Regions from separate parts of the Homo sapiens genome. Here all the other regions are linked to region 3. Evidence: promoter capture Hi-C in 16 types of primary human blood cells and fetal thymus (Javierre and others, 2016). All regions are on one chromosome and are shown on one strand. Each heading gives the region's core, a stretch centred on a gene start or on the middle of the fragment in contact. The rest is flanking DNA. Distances are from core to core; before and after follow the strand shown.

Evidence for each region. The method cuts DNA at HindIII sites, captures the fragments that hold promoters and counts their contacts. A CHiCAGO score of 5 or more calls a contact.
Region 1: a contact is called between a fragment that was not itself captured here and the fragment with the promoter of SLC45A2 in region 3, in 8 of 17 cell types (M2 macrophages, naive CD8 T cells, naive CD4 T cells and 5 more). The highest score is 10.8, in M2 macrophages.
Region 2: the fragment with the promoter of RAI14 here is called in contact with the fragment with the promoter of SLC45A2 in region 3 in 4 of 17 cell types (naive CD8 T cells, activated CD4 T cells, monocytes and 1 more); the score reaches 8.3 in naive CD8 T cells.
Region 4: a fragment that was not itself captured here is called in contact with the fragment with the promoter of SLC45A2 in region 3 in 5 of 17 cell types (total CD8 T cells, total CD4 T cells, non-activated CD4 T cells and 2 more); the score reaches 7.5 in total CD8 T cells.
Region 5: a fragment that was not itself captured here is called in contact with the fragment with the promoter of SLC45A2 in region 3 in 1 of 17 cell types (monocytes); the score reaches 11.9 in monocytes.

What each region holds. Positions count from the first base shown.
Region 1 is chr5:34,796,484-34,799,183 of GRCh38, forward strand. The region is part of intron 4 of RAI14 (retinoic acid induced 14); the gene reads left to right. Among named protein-coding and RNA genes, the nearest start is that of TTC23L, 41 kb to the right of the region's middle. The HindIII fragment of the contact is 9,604 bases long and covers 1-2,700 here.
Region 2 is chr5:34,654,956-34,657,655 of GRCh38, forward strand. It overlaps RAI14 (retinoic acid induced 14), which reads left to right and starts at 1,373. Exons shown (of 18, transcript NM_015577.3): 1 at 1,373-1,520. It overlaps RAI14-DT (RAI14 divergent transcript), which reads right to left and starts at 1,218. Exons shown (of 3, transcript NR_183264.1): 1 at 1,038-1,218. RefSeq lists a silencer at 1,331-1,380. The HindIII fragment of the contact is 8,769 bases long and covers 399-2,700 here.
Region 3 is chr5:33,983,280-33,985,979 of GRCh38, forward strand. It overlaps SLC45A2 (solute carrier family 45 member 2), which reads right to left and starts at 1,414. Exons shown (of 7, transcript NM_016180.5): 1 at 920-1,414. The coding sequence starts at 1,304. The HindIII fragment of the contact is 8,753 bases long and covers 1-2,700 here.
Region 4 is chr5:34,524,596-34,527,295 of GRCh38, forward strand. It overlaps LOC124900958 (a long non-coding RNA gene), which reads left to right and starts at 1,361. Exons shown (of 3, transcript XR_007058727.1): 1 at 1,361-1,496. RefSeq lists enhancers at 1,966-2,466, 2,467-2,700. The HindIII fragment of the contact is 3,528 bases long and covers 1-2,700 here.
Region 5 is chr5:33,279,831-33,282,530 of GRCh38, forward strand. All of the region lies in intron 1 of LOC124900637 (a long non-coding RNA gene), which reads right to left. Among named protein-coding and RNA genes, the nearest start is that of LINC02160, 51 kb to the left of the region's middle. The HindIII fragment of the contact is 7,284 bases long and covers 1-2,700 here.

The DNA.
Region 1 (2,700 bases), core at 122-2,621, 810 kb after region 3:
CATGGTTTTGTTGTATAGCCATACTTCTGAGTTTTCATCTTTCATGTGGTTAGTCAACTAGAGACTGTATGCTTCTTATCCTCATTTTTTATATTATTTTCTAAGATTATATGTACAGACCAAGCAATAGTCCCTAATTTTTGTTTTTATGAATCATTGTGTGAGGTGATGAGTGAGTTACTCAGGAGCTCATTTCATCAACTGAGATAGGCTCTGTAGATGGAAGCCTTGAACTTCATCTGGACCAGCTGCCCACGATTCTCACCCCTTGCTGTACTTCAGGGCATCCAGTTCACCTGGGAACTTGAAGGAAGGGAAAAGAGAAGAATAAACAGTACACACACACACAAACACACACACACATACACACACACACAAATATATATACCTACACTTTACCCTCTGAGATTCAGATTCCATTGTCTGGAAGTTGCCAGTCAACTGGTATTTTTTTAAAGCTCGCTGGGTGATTCTAATGTGAAGCCAGTGTTGACAAAAGATGAACAAGGCAAATGGAGAGAAAAGGTAGCGTAGTCTTACCTTGTATAAAACACTGTCCTATAAGAAGGAGCCCCTGGGGTCTCCAGCCTGGGATTCTGCCCCTGCTGGCCACCCCAAAAGACCAAAGCAACCACTGATGGCTTTTCATTTTTCGATTGTACTCGAGAATTTTTGGCTTCTAATAGGTTTCTATTAGTGTTTACTGGGATACAAAATTAGCCTAACTCCATTGCCTTTATCTAGGCTTTTCGTGAATCCGTAATGGATCCCTTTCTTTTCTCCCATCCCCAAAATTGGCCTCTTCAGACTAGTCATCTTGAGGGATCAGCCAGGTATTGCAGGAATGCTATTATTACTCAAAATATGGTTGGGAACAGGTTTAGAATTGTTTTCATTGTGTGAGGACTTAAAAAAAAGAATCTCAGTGGTTGGGAATCTTTATCCTTTGAGAATAGGGTTTTTTTTTAGGGCAAACCTAAGAGCCCTAAAAAAATTTGATGTCAAGTCAGGTGAATGATGTTTCAAACTGGTAAAACCATTTTTGGTCAAAAATAGGGAGTGATTGAAATAACAGAATGATTTTTCTGAGCAGTTCCACAGAAAGTTCCAAAAATATTTTGAGAAATGGCAACACCAATATAGGGGGATAAATGGTTTCCTTAAGTGACTGCCTTGAGGGAAATACTAATTTATGTTTTTCCAATTAAAGTCATCTTTAAACTCAAGACCCAATTATTGTGTTTGTTTTTAAAGTTCATTGTCATTGCTCTTAAAGTTATGCCATAAAACCACATGGTGCAGTATGATTTGCTAAAATACCCCTAATGAGATGTATGTCCTCTTAAGTAGGAGAAGTTTCCCTCTAAGAAACCCATAATCTGAAAGCATTAGCTCAGAGTGAATAAACTGGTGCCGTCACACGGTTTTGTTTCATTGTACTTGATATTAAGAAATAGATTAGACAGGACTGTAGTTATTTTCAGCATAACCAAAATCTTCCCTCACGTCTTTTTATTGTAGGGAAAAATAAGTTGGTTTTTTGTGTGTGTTTTTTTGTTTGTTTGTTTTTGAGACGGAGTCTTGCTCTGTTGCCCAGGCTGGAGTGCACTGGCACGATCTCTGCTCACTGCAACCTCCGCATCCCAGGTTCAAGTGACTCTCCTGCCTCAGCCTCCTGAGTAACTCAGATTACAGGCACCCACCACCACCACGCCCGGCTAATTTTTGTATTTTTAGTAGAGGCGGGGTTTCACCATCTTGGCCAGGCTGGTCTTGAACTCCTGACCTCAGGTGATCCACCCGCCTTGGCATCCCAAAGTGCTGGAATTACAGGCGTGAGCCACCAAGCCCGGCCAGAATAAGTTTTTTTTTTTTTTTAATACATGCTTATTGTAGAAAAGTTGAGAAATATAGTAAACTATAAAGAAGAAGATAACTCAAGTTCCTACTCCTATCAGAAAGAAAAAAAATATTTCTATTTTGTTGTATTTCCTTCCAGATTGTCCCAATACATTTTTACATGCCTGAGATCACATTATATAATAAATTCTATATCCTGCATTTTAATTTATTAAATATCCCGCCAGTTTCATTTCCCCCATTAAAGGCTCTTAAGAAGCATAGTTCTTGGTGGCCTCATAACACCCTGTGGGTAGAGCTCATATTTACCACCAGAGCCCTAACCCAGTTCCTGAGAGGCTGGTGCAGTGCTGAGCAGGAAGACCTGGATGCCCCAAGGCAGTGCCCACTTCCTGCAGACTGAGATGGTACCACTCTCTAAGAAGCAACACTGGAGGGAGTGCTGTGGACACAGCCTGGATATTTCCCAGGATTCGCCAGTGGGAACCAATTGAAATTGGTGGAATCCACAGCACTTTGGGGCCACAGGACATTGTCCAAACATTCCATGGGTTGAAGATGTCTCAGAGCTCCCGTCACTTCCTTCTCACCTGATATTTTTAGCCATGATTCCAGCACTTCCCTCCTTGGGCTTCATCGTTTTATTTTGGCCTGAAGGAGGTACCAGCTTCTTCCCATGATTTCTTGAAAGCATGCAAAGAGAACACGGGAACAAAAGAAGAACACTGCATGGAAAAAAGTGCATCTAGAAAAACACTTCTCATTTTTTTCTGTCCCAATAAACAGGTTAAATTGTAATGGCTTTGATTGCCCATGCCTGTGTCTTACCTGTTGGCTATA
Region 2 (2,700 bases), core at 123-2,622, 670 kb after region 3:
TTCTTTTACAGTGTGACTTTGTTTGAGAGGGATAAAGGACAGGAAGAGGAGTGTACATCTTGCTTTAGCTGTTCCTCACTTGGCTAAGGAACTTTTGCTGTAGGAAGTGAAGACCCTGCACCTAGTTACAAGGCTTTTGATGCTTGTTTGTCAAGTTCAACTGTTAAAGGGGAGATAGGCTCTTCCCTAGTAGGGAGAGGGAGGAAGGAAAGGGGGATGGGGCGGGGGGAGGGAACAGGTAATATCTGCCATATAAATATTAGTATGTAGCTGACACGTTATAAACTGAGCTGTTAGGGTGAATTTCAATTTTGTTGGAATCGACCTTTTTTCCCTCTTAAGTTCAATTGACTTACAGTAGATCCCAGAAAGAACTCAATACGTTATTTATTCTAGAAAGCTTTCTTCCCTGAGCAAAGGAGGCAGAGCTAACGAGGAGAAGGGAGGAGCTTAGGTGAACAGAACTGAAGTCACAGCTGGTTAGCATGACTAGAATGCATGGAAAAGCCAGCCCAAATTAGATGAGTGGGTAGATAGAGAGCTTTGAAATCCTTGGAATTAATGGTGGAGTCCATCGTAATTGAAAGGTCGGGCCTTAGTGGGCTGGGATAGGGAGAGAAGCTGTCGGGGACCTGGGGCAGTGAGCCTGTACCCCGTGGCTTCTCACACACTATTTTGAAGGCGTTCCCATGCGCAATCTCGCCTGTCAGTTCAGGCTGTAGGTTTCTCCTTTCTAACTCCTGAGCAGAACAACACTGAACGGTGGTAGTCTTGCCTTGCCACCCAATGAGTGCTAGAAAACAGTCACTTCAACCAATTGGTTCAGTCCGGAGAACGTGAGCACATTCTACTTTACTTTCTGTTCAATGATTTTGGAAAACAACCTTTTAGATTCTGGTCAGAAGGGGCTTGGATCCGTGACTTTGAAACACTCGCCACTACCACAAACGACTTTGGAAGTTAATCAGAAATAAACAGTATCTGGGATCTCATCCGTCCTAAACCCAGGGGTCAGAGCGTGGGGGGCTTCCACTAACTTCAGGTTAAGAGGATGAAACAGATCCGCGGAGAAGGGTCCCACGATCCCTGGAGACTAAAAGCAAGCCACGAACAGCCGGGACGCGCGGGCCGGGGAGATGCGCCGGGGGCTGGAGGGCGGAGAGCACCCCCCGCAGGTCCCGGCCAGAGCCCGGGGCCGGGTCACCTGACTCGCGGAATTTGGGGCCGCGAGGGGTGGAATGGGAGGGGAATGGTTAGCGCCTCCCTTCCCGCTCCCACTGGATCCAGGTCGGCGGGGGCCGGCGCCCGGCGGCCACGTGGTGGTGCTGCCGCTGCCCCCGCCCCGCCGGCCTAGCCCGGGAGCTCGGCGCCCACTGACCCCCGCAGCGGGGGAGGAGGAGGGACTGCGGCGCAGGAAGCCGAGCAGGAAGCGAGCCCGGCGGCCGCGTTTTCCTGGGGAAGCGGCGGGCGGGGTGGAGCAGCCAGCTGGGTCCGGGGAGCGCCGCCGCCGCCTCGATGGGGTGAGTGCGCGGCACGGAGTTGGGAGGCTCCCGGCGCGGGGTCCCGGGCTCGTGTCCCCGCCTTTGTGTCTGGAGCTCGGGCGCGGGAGGCGCTGGGGACGGCGCCCGGGCGGAGCGGCTGAGCGGGCTGCAGCCGGGGTCCCGCCACCTCTCCCTGGTCCACCGCCGGCAGCCCACTGTCTGCGGAGAGCAGATCTGGGGACAAGAGGAAGGAGAGGAAGGTGGAGATGAGGGTAGAGCGGGAAGACCCGGCCAAGTTAGGAGAAGGGTTCTTCCCGGGTCCTCCGCGACTCGCAGGCCGGCTGGGGCGGGGCGCGGGGCAGGGGCCGCGGCGGAGGGAGCGCGGGTGGGAATGAATGAGCAGACCCGGAGATGCACCCTGGAGTCTGCGCCGGGTCCCACCTGTTTCGCCCCGCGCGGCGCCTCGCTGCCCCCGCGTCGGTGCTGCTGAGCCCAATCCGCCTCCCGGCTGAACTTGGAGGAGGTGGGGAGGGAGGTGCGAGCGGGAGACTCCGGGTGGCTCCCAGGACGCGGGGTCCGCTATTGTTCCTCCTCTGACTCCAGGGAGCCCCTCGGCCGGCCCAAGGGCGGGGGCGAGACCCCTCTGGGCCTGCCCCTGCCCCCTACCTTGTTTTCCCCGCCGCAGCTCGGGGAGAACGGATGCTGGAGTTGGGGCAGACTCGGGGCCGCCGGGACTTCGGGAGTAAGGAGGACGTGGAGCCACCAGAAAGGCGCCCGCCATCTCCCGCGACCCCTGCCTGGTGGGGGGTGGGGGGTGGGGTGTCGTCCTCAACCACCTTCGCTGCCTTCTTGGGCAGGTTGGTGTCGGTTTAGTTTCTGCGGTTTGCAGGGTTGACATCCTAACTCCTTTGAGTTTCGCATCCCCCTTTTGTGGAGGGGGCTCAGAGCCTGGAGAAGCAACAGACGGGGAATTAAGGCAGATGCAGCCCAGCACAGCGTGGAGGGGTCCGAAGTGGCCTCACGGGGGCCTGAGCATGGCTGTCTTTCCAGGCTCCTCTTTATTTGCCAGGAGCCCAGCTAAGCCCAACTTTACTCCCAGAAATGTTGAGGGGAATCTGCGGACTCGAGGCCCCTCGCCTCGGGACCAGCGGCTTCTCTTCGCCGCAGCTCACGCATGATCGGGGTGGGATTCCGTCTTCCTTCCGGGAGAGGAGAATGC
Region 3 (2,700 bases), core at 164-2,663:
CTTGTTTCCATTTGCTTTTTAAACTTAAGAATAGCATAGATTATATACACGTTTTAAAAATTGCAGTATAAAATTAAATGAACAATAAGTCTACCCGCCACTTCTCACCTCCTGTCCTTCAGTAATCCTCCTTAGAGTCAACAATGCTTATCAGCTTTTTGTTCATTCTCCTGGAAATATCCTACATTTGTACATTTACGCTTTCTTTCAAATATGTACAAATGATAATTGATTATCCTGCCTCATAATCACCGATTCTGCTAGCTTGAGAGTTAATGATCTACAAATGTGTGCTATTTTTAGCGATCCTTTTTGCAATGCAACTTTATTGTACTACCATCAATTACTGATTAATTGGTAGCTGATTAATGGCTAGAAAAAATGCCTACCCTCAGGTTTGCTTTTGTCCAGAATTTGCAATGCCAGAAAGGTCCTCTTGAGCTGATGGGCTTATGCCCTACGCCTATTAAAACGCTCTACATAAAACTATGAACAGAATTAACTTATTTGGATACACAGGTGACTTATTGTAAATATTTATGGAGCTATTTGGCAGCCAGTCAATTTGATAAGAGTATTAAATAGAGCATAATGGGCTCAAAAAGTAACTCAATTGATAAATATGTAAAAATATTCAATTCGATAAAATAGATACAAATTTAATAAAATAGATACAAATTTAATCCTATTTTTAAATCTTCACAACAATGAAACATATTTATTTTGATATTTCTAGAAGTAGAGGCTCCCCAACCACAGAATCTGGGCCAAATTTGTCAAAGGGGAAGTTCATTGTAACCTAGGAGAGATCAATTCTAACAAATTTCTAGGAAAGGTCAAACACATGAACATCCTCCTCCTGCAGAGGTACACACTAAGACACATATCCCTGTCTGCCCACCTTGTGCAGCCCACTTACCTGCTACAACAGTAGCCCCATTGAGGTACAGAGCCATGCCCACGAGCATCATGACTCCCAGGGTGAGGATGTAGGGTCTCCGGCGGCCCCACCTGGACCGGCAGTGGTCGCTGGCCGATCCGACCACGGGCTGCAGCAGGAATCCCAGGATGGGGCTGAGGAACCACACAATGCTGTACAGGCTGCTGGGCAGACCTACGCTGAGCAGGACTGGGGTCACATACGCTGCCTCCACCGCGTAGCAGAACTCTCTTCCGAACATGGCCATGCTGTGCATGATGAGTCTGCTGGTGGGTCTTTTAGGCGGCTCCACAGAGTCAAAGGGGCCATCATCAGCTAGGGATTTATAGATGTGGCGGCCAGCCTGCCCACTGTTGCTACCCATGGCCACTGGGAGAGGAACCTTCCTGCGAGCCCACCACCTCCTGCGTGGTCCTAGGGTCTGTGTTTCAAACTGGATTTGACGTGGAGCCTGGCCGAGCAACCAACAGAGATGGTCAGGCTGGGGGAGGGGCTCAAATTCTTTCCTGCCTCTAAGATCACAAGTTATGATGAGAGGGAGGGGGTGGTGCTGGAAAGCATGACAGAGATTAGCAGCTGTGAATCAGCCCTCTGGCTCCATAAGACGTTGGAATACTTTTCTAAAGGGATCCTCCTTTGTACTGTTCCCTCTCTCTTTCTCTCTCTCTCACACACACACACAATTACACGTGATCACACACATGGCTTCTCTCCCTCTCACACACACGTTATTACACGTGATCACACACATGGGCTCTCTCAGACAGTATTACACATGATCACACACATGGTTTCTCTCTCACACACACATGCTATTACACATGATCACACACGTGGCTTCTCTCACACACACATTATTACACATGATCACACACATGGCTTCTCTCACACACACGCTATTAAACGTGATCACACCTGGCTTCTCACACACACATGCTATTACACATGATCACACACGGCTTCTCACACACATGCTATTACACATGATCACACACATGGCTTCTCTCACACACATTACACATGATCACACATGGTTTCTCACATACATGCTATTACACATGATCACACACGGCTTCTCTCATGCATGTTATTACACATGATCATACACATGGCTTCTCACACACATGCTATTACACATGATCACACATGGCTTCTCTCACACACATTACACATGGTCACACATGGCTTCTCTCACATGCGTTATTACACATGATCATACATGGCTTCTCTCTCACATGCTATTACACATGATCACACATGGCTTCTCATGCATTTTATTACACATGACCACACACATGGCTTCTCTCACACACGTTATTACACATGGTCACACATGGCTTCTCTCACGTTATTACACATGATCATACATGGCTTCTCTCACACATTATTACACATGACAGCTTCTCTCTCACACACTATTGCACATGATCACACATGGCTTCTCTCACACACACATGCTATTGCACATGATCACACATGGTTTCTCTCTCACACACGTTATTACACAACGATCACACACGGCTTCTCTCTCATACACATTATTACACATGACCACACACATGGCTTTTCTCTCACACACACTATTACACATGATCACACATGGGGCTTTTCTCGTTATTACACATGATCGGACTCATGGCTTCTCTCACACACACATGCTATTACACATGATTGCACACATAGCTTCTCTCTCACACACGTGTTATTACACATCACACACGGCTTCTCACACACGTTATTTTACACGATCACACACATGG
Region 4 (2,700 bases), core at 19-2,518, 540 kb after region 3:
CAAGTGCTACTGGAGTCACAGCAACATCAGTTCTGGATTATCAATGTTTATGTCCAAAGGGGAGATAAATTGTTGACAAGGTAGTAGTCAGGGTAAGTCAATAGTTCAGTGGGAAAGCATTAGGGACAGATCTTTTTAGCTTTACCCTCTTTACCCACCAAACACTCATTTTTAATTAGGAACAGATTCAATGTGAAGGATAGGCTCACTCATCACTGTGGTGAGACATTGTTCTCATGTCCTTCACTGCCCACACTCTTTTTATTTTTATTTTTTTATTTTTTATTTTTTTATGAGACGGAGTCTCGCTCTGTCGCCCAGGCTGGAGTAAAGTGGCACAATCATGGCTCACTGCAGCTAAGACCTCCCCCGGCTCAGGTGATCCTCTCATCTCAGCCTCCAAAGTAGCTAGGACTACAGGCACCTACCTGGCTGATTTTTCTATTTTTTTGTAGAGATGATTTTGCCTTGTTGCCCAGGCTGGTCTCAAACTCCTGGGCTCAAGAGACCTGCCCGCCTCAGCCTCCCAAAGTGCTGGGATTACAGGCGTGAGCCACACCACCCGGCCATTGCCTACACTCTTTATCCAGAGTTTATTTGGTGATTTTCACCTCATTTTTGTGCTCAGTCTTAAGATCTGATTAATGCCAAAAATAAATAATCTAATTTCAAAATAATATAAGTTCATATTACGTATAGACATGTTTGTGCACATATGCATATGATGAGCTTCACGTATACAACTATTCATACATTTATATTTTTATCATTCATATATGCATGCATGTGTGTAAGAGGACTTGGCCTTTCTTATTTAAAACTGATCATATATTAATATATATAAGAAGGACAGAGAATGGAAGGCCATACACCTCCATGTTAGCAGTAGTTATCTCACAAGGGTAGAATTACTTCCTTTGCTGATTTCTCTTCTATTCTTTTTTTGTCTGTGATTTTCATGTTTTCTGCAATAATCAAATATTACTTTTATAAATAGAAAAAACCCATAATGTAATGGTTTTGGAAAAGTGTATTTGACTTTAGTAACAAAGTAGTCTGTTCTAACAAAAAAGCAAGGTAAAATTGGTCTTAGGGCCTGACAGCTCAGGTGACCCTTAACTCACTGCTTAATTGGCACTGACTTGGCCAACATCACCTCAGTGTTTTCTCATCTGAAGCAGAGAAGATATTTGCTAAGCCCTATTCAGGGCTGTTGAGGAATCAAATGAGAAGGTTATCCGAAAGCACTTTGTGATTAGACTGCATATATAAAAACATGCTGACTTCACTGTGACAGTTGCATTTTCCGTGAACTGGCTGTGCACCTCCTGTTATAGGGAGTTCCCAGGAGCCGGGTCATGCCCGAGCCTTCCTGTGGAACTCCCCGAAGAACTTGGTCCCTCATTTGGGAACAGCAACAATCAAGAAGACCTGCCAATGTCAGAACTGGAAGAGTACCAGATTCCCAGATTTAGTTCCAACAGTCAAGAGTCAAGGTTTGTTTCATCGGATATCCTGACCATGGAATTCCACAGGAACTAGGGTGGTTGAATCAATAATAGGACACTCAGGTACATTTGAATTTCAGATACAGGTACATAACAAATAATTTTTAGTATGAGTATGTCCCAAATATTGCACAGAATTCATGTACATCAAAAAACATTTGTTGTTTATCTGAAATTCAAATTTAACTGAGTTTCCTGTCTGTATTTTTTTGTTAAATCTAGTCATCCTAATGGAAACTTTTACCCCCTCTCACTAGTTTGGTTGGTTGGTTGGTTGGTTGGTTGGTTGGTTTTTACTTATTAACTTCAGCTTCTTAATGAGAATTTAGGTTTTACAAATACAGTCGTCCTTTGGTGTGCATGGGAGATTGGTTCTAGGACCTCCCTCAGACACCAAAATCCACAGATGCGCAAGTCCTTGATACAAAATGGTGCAGTATTTGCATATAACCTATGCACAACCTCCTGTATACTTTATGTCATCTCTAGATTACTTAAGATCTCTAGATTGCTAATATAAATGCTATGTAAATAATTGTTACACTGTGTTATTTAGGAAATAATGATGAGGAAAAAAGTCTGTACATGTTTAGTACAAATGCAATTTGTTTCCAAATACTTTTTATCCATGGCTAATTGGATCCAGTCATGGAATCCACAGATACTGAGGGCCAACTGCATATGCTCAGGGCCTTTCAGATAAGGCACCCTCTGTAAGTGCACCTGACATATGCTAAACAATGATAGGCTATTGCAACAGCATCAGCAGGGCTGGCAGGGTGCTAAGGAAGCACACAGGTGACTGTTGGGGCACCCACCAGCATTCTTTCAGAACATTGTAAACGGTAGAGAGCTTCAAGGGTGACTGTCTGGGTCACATCTTGCCCTTTAATTGGCCTGGCTGTTGTGCAAAGGAAGCACCTGCAGCCATCAGCGTGTTCAACCACCAGTAGACTGGAGTCATTTTTCATTCTTGGATGTGAAATTGGCCAGGGGCAATTAAGAATTGGGAAACTAGAAAAGGCAGCCCGGTGTCAAGGAGGTCAAGATTGGGCCACAGCCTTGCTTCCCACAAGGTCTGTCTTGTCTCTGGATAGTGGGAGAGTTGAGGCAAGGGAGTCTGGAATTATTATAAAAGGCAGCTTTTCTTGAAGCAAACAGCCAGCCAGGCAGCACAGCTTCCAAGCTGAGA
Region 5 (2,700 bases), core at 4-2,503, 700 kb before region 3:
GCCATCAGAGAAATGCAAATCAAAACCACAATGAGATACCATCTCACACCAGTTAGAATGGCGATCATTAAAAAGTCAGGAAACAACAGGTGCTGGAGAGGATGTGGAGAAACAGGAACACTTTTACACTGTTGGTGGGACTGTAAACTAGTTCAACCATTGTGGAAGTCAGTGTGGCGATTCCTCAGGGATCTAGAACTAGAAATACCATTTGACCCAGCCATCCCATTACTGGGTATATACCCAAAGGAATATAAATCATGCTGCTATAAAGACACATGCACACATATGTTTACTGCGGTACTATTCACAATAGCAAAGACTTGGAACCAACCCAAATGTCCAACAATGATAGACTGGATTAAGAAAATGTGGCACATATACACTATGGAATACTATGCAGCCATAAAAAATGATGAGTTCATGTCCTTTGTAGGGACATGGATGAAATTGGAAATCATCATTCTCAGTAAACTATCGCAGGGACAAAAACCAAACACTGCATGTTCTCACTCATAGGTGGGAACTGAACAATGAGAACACAAGGACACAGGAAGGGGAACATCACACTCTGGGGACTGTTGTGGGGTGGGGGGAGGGGGGAGGGATAGCATTAGGAGATATACCTAATGCTAAATGACGAGTTAATAGGTGCAGCACACCAGCATGGCACATGTATACTTATGTAACTAACCTGCACATTGTGCACATGTACCTAAAACTTAAAGTATAATTAAAAAAAAAAAAAATCTCAGACAGGTCTAAATTTGGTCACCGGAGTGAAGAATAAATACTCTGATGTCTCTAAAGACTTTACTTGGGTTGCCAAATTCTCTCTGACAGGCTCTGGAAATACAAATGGAAGGGCTTTAAGTATTATTTCCTACTTTTCCCAGTACTTCTTTCTGTATGTGCATACAGACAAGCGGGCCATCTCAGGAGGGTGACTGGAAAAGTAGCAGGAGCAGTGGACTGGGAGTCAGCTCTGGGACCAACTCATGACGTGACCTTTGACCGATCTCTAGACCTCTAGATTTAAAAAAAAAAAATTGACTGAGCATCTCCTCAGGCGTTTTTATGGCAGAAATTCTATAAGCTATGTATTAATGACTTTTATAATAAATTAAATAAAACAAATAAATTTATTTAAGGAAATTACCCTGGCATAAGTCCCTAGCTGTTGCAAGGCTTAATTTTCTCCACTACACTGTGTAGGATATAAAATATGCTAAGGCTTCATGAGCAATATAGAAACACTCTGGTGACTGGCTCTAAGATTTATCATGATGGCTGCAGCTTGCTGTGCTGGAATAACTTTCCTTGGAATGGGAAATACAATAGCTTATCATTTTCTTATAGAGTTAAGAATGGTTTTGCTTTTTGAAGAAGAAACTGACTCCGTAAGAAAACTGTAGGATAGTGTCTTGTTAAACCACATTCTTCATGCCAATAATTGAAGTTATATGGATTCAAGAATATTGTTTCTCTTTAAACTGATGCACATGATTTCATTAAAAATAAAATTTAGCATGGAAGATGTTTAAAAATACACAGATTTGCTTATTCTTCTCAAGAGCAATGAACTCAAACTCGACTCTATAATCATCATAAATAAAGATTCTGCTTTGCTATGTGCTTTATCTTGGCGCTAAGAAGAAAAACCTTCATCTATTTATATTCAGTCTGCTCCTATCTTTTTGTTTATTTAGACTTAGATACAACAGTCCTTTACTTGCTTGTCACTACCATTGCTCACAACTTTTTCTAAAAGCCAAAATGCTGTCAGAAACCCAAACTTCATCCATTCATTAATCTTTCGGCGCCACAACCTGGGAGGTCAGTATCTGGTCACTGTCTTCAGTTTCATATGATATGCAATATTTATATCACGTGGATCTGATCTAAATAGCCTAGTCTTGGAACTCAGTCTAAGAAGGTCATTTGGCTTACAAAATACTACTTGGCCTACATAATAAACACTGGTCCAGCACACAGGAACTACGCTGCCCTTTACTCATTCTTCCCAGTGCCCCAGACCTGACCATGGAAGAAAAAATAAGTAGCATTAGCTACCTATCTATATTTCAGGAAGTAACTTTTTATTCCAAAAGAACATTTCTCATTGCCTGTCACTACTCCTTTGTATCTTGCATTCTTTTGCATCTTGAAGGTTTTGGATTCTTTAGGAATTCCCCTTAAAATTGAGATGTCAGAGACAAGGTGAAGTTAAGGAGGTTGGGGTTCGGGGGTAGGTGGATTATTGTAGCAACTCAAGAGTTGAAGAACTGAAGAATCTGAAAAATGAAAGAAAGGTATATGCTGAAGGAAGGTGTGAGAAATCACCAAAAATCAACATTGCTATCTCATAATTTTGCCAAAAACCAGCCTTCCTATTATTTATCCCTGCAAAAAAAATGTGAACCAGTTTGCTTTCAGCAAACACTAAATTTCTATGTTCAAAAAGTAAGCAAAACATCTCTAAATAATAAAAATTAGTGACATATCTTACTTTATTCTGCCGACTTAGCAGTTTTCTGAGAAATCAATGAAAAGTCACTGTATTTGACCATCTTTGGAGTTTTCCTCTAAAGTGAGACAATTAATAATAAATAATAAAACGTGAATGGTGGCAGCTTCTGATCGTTCTCTTCCCGACCCAGTTTATCAGGGTGTTTCATTCAACTCTCACAGCTAGTCCAT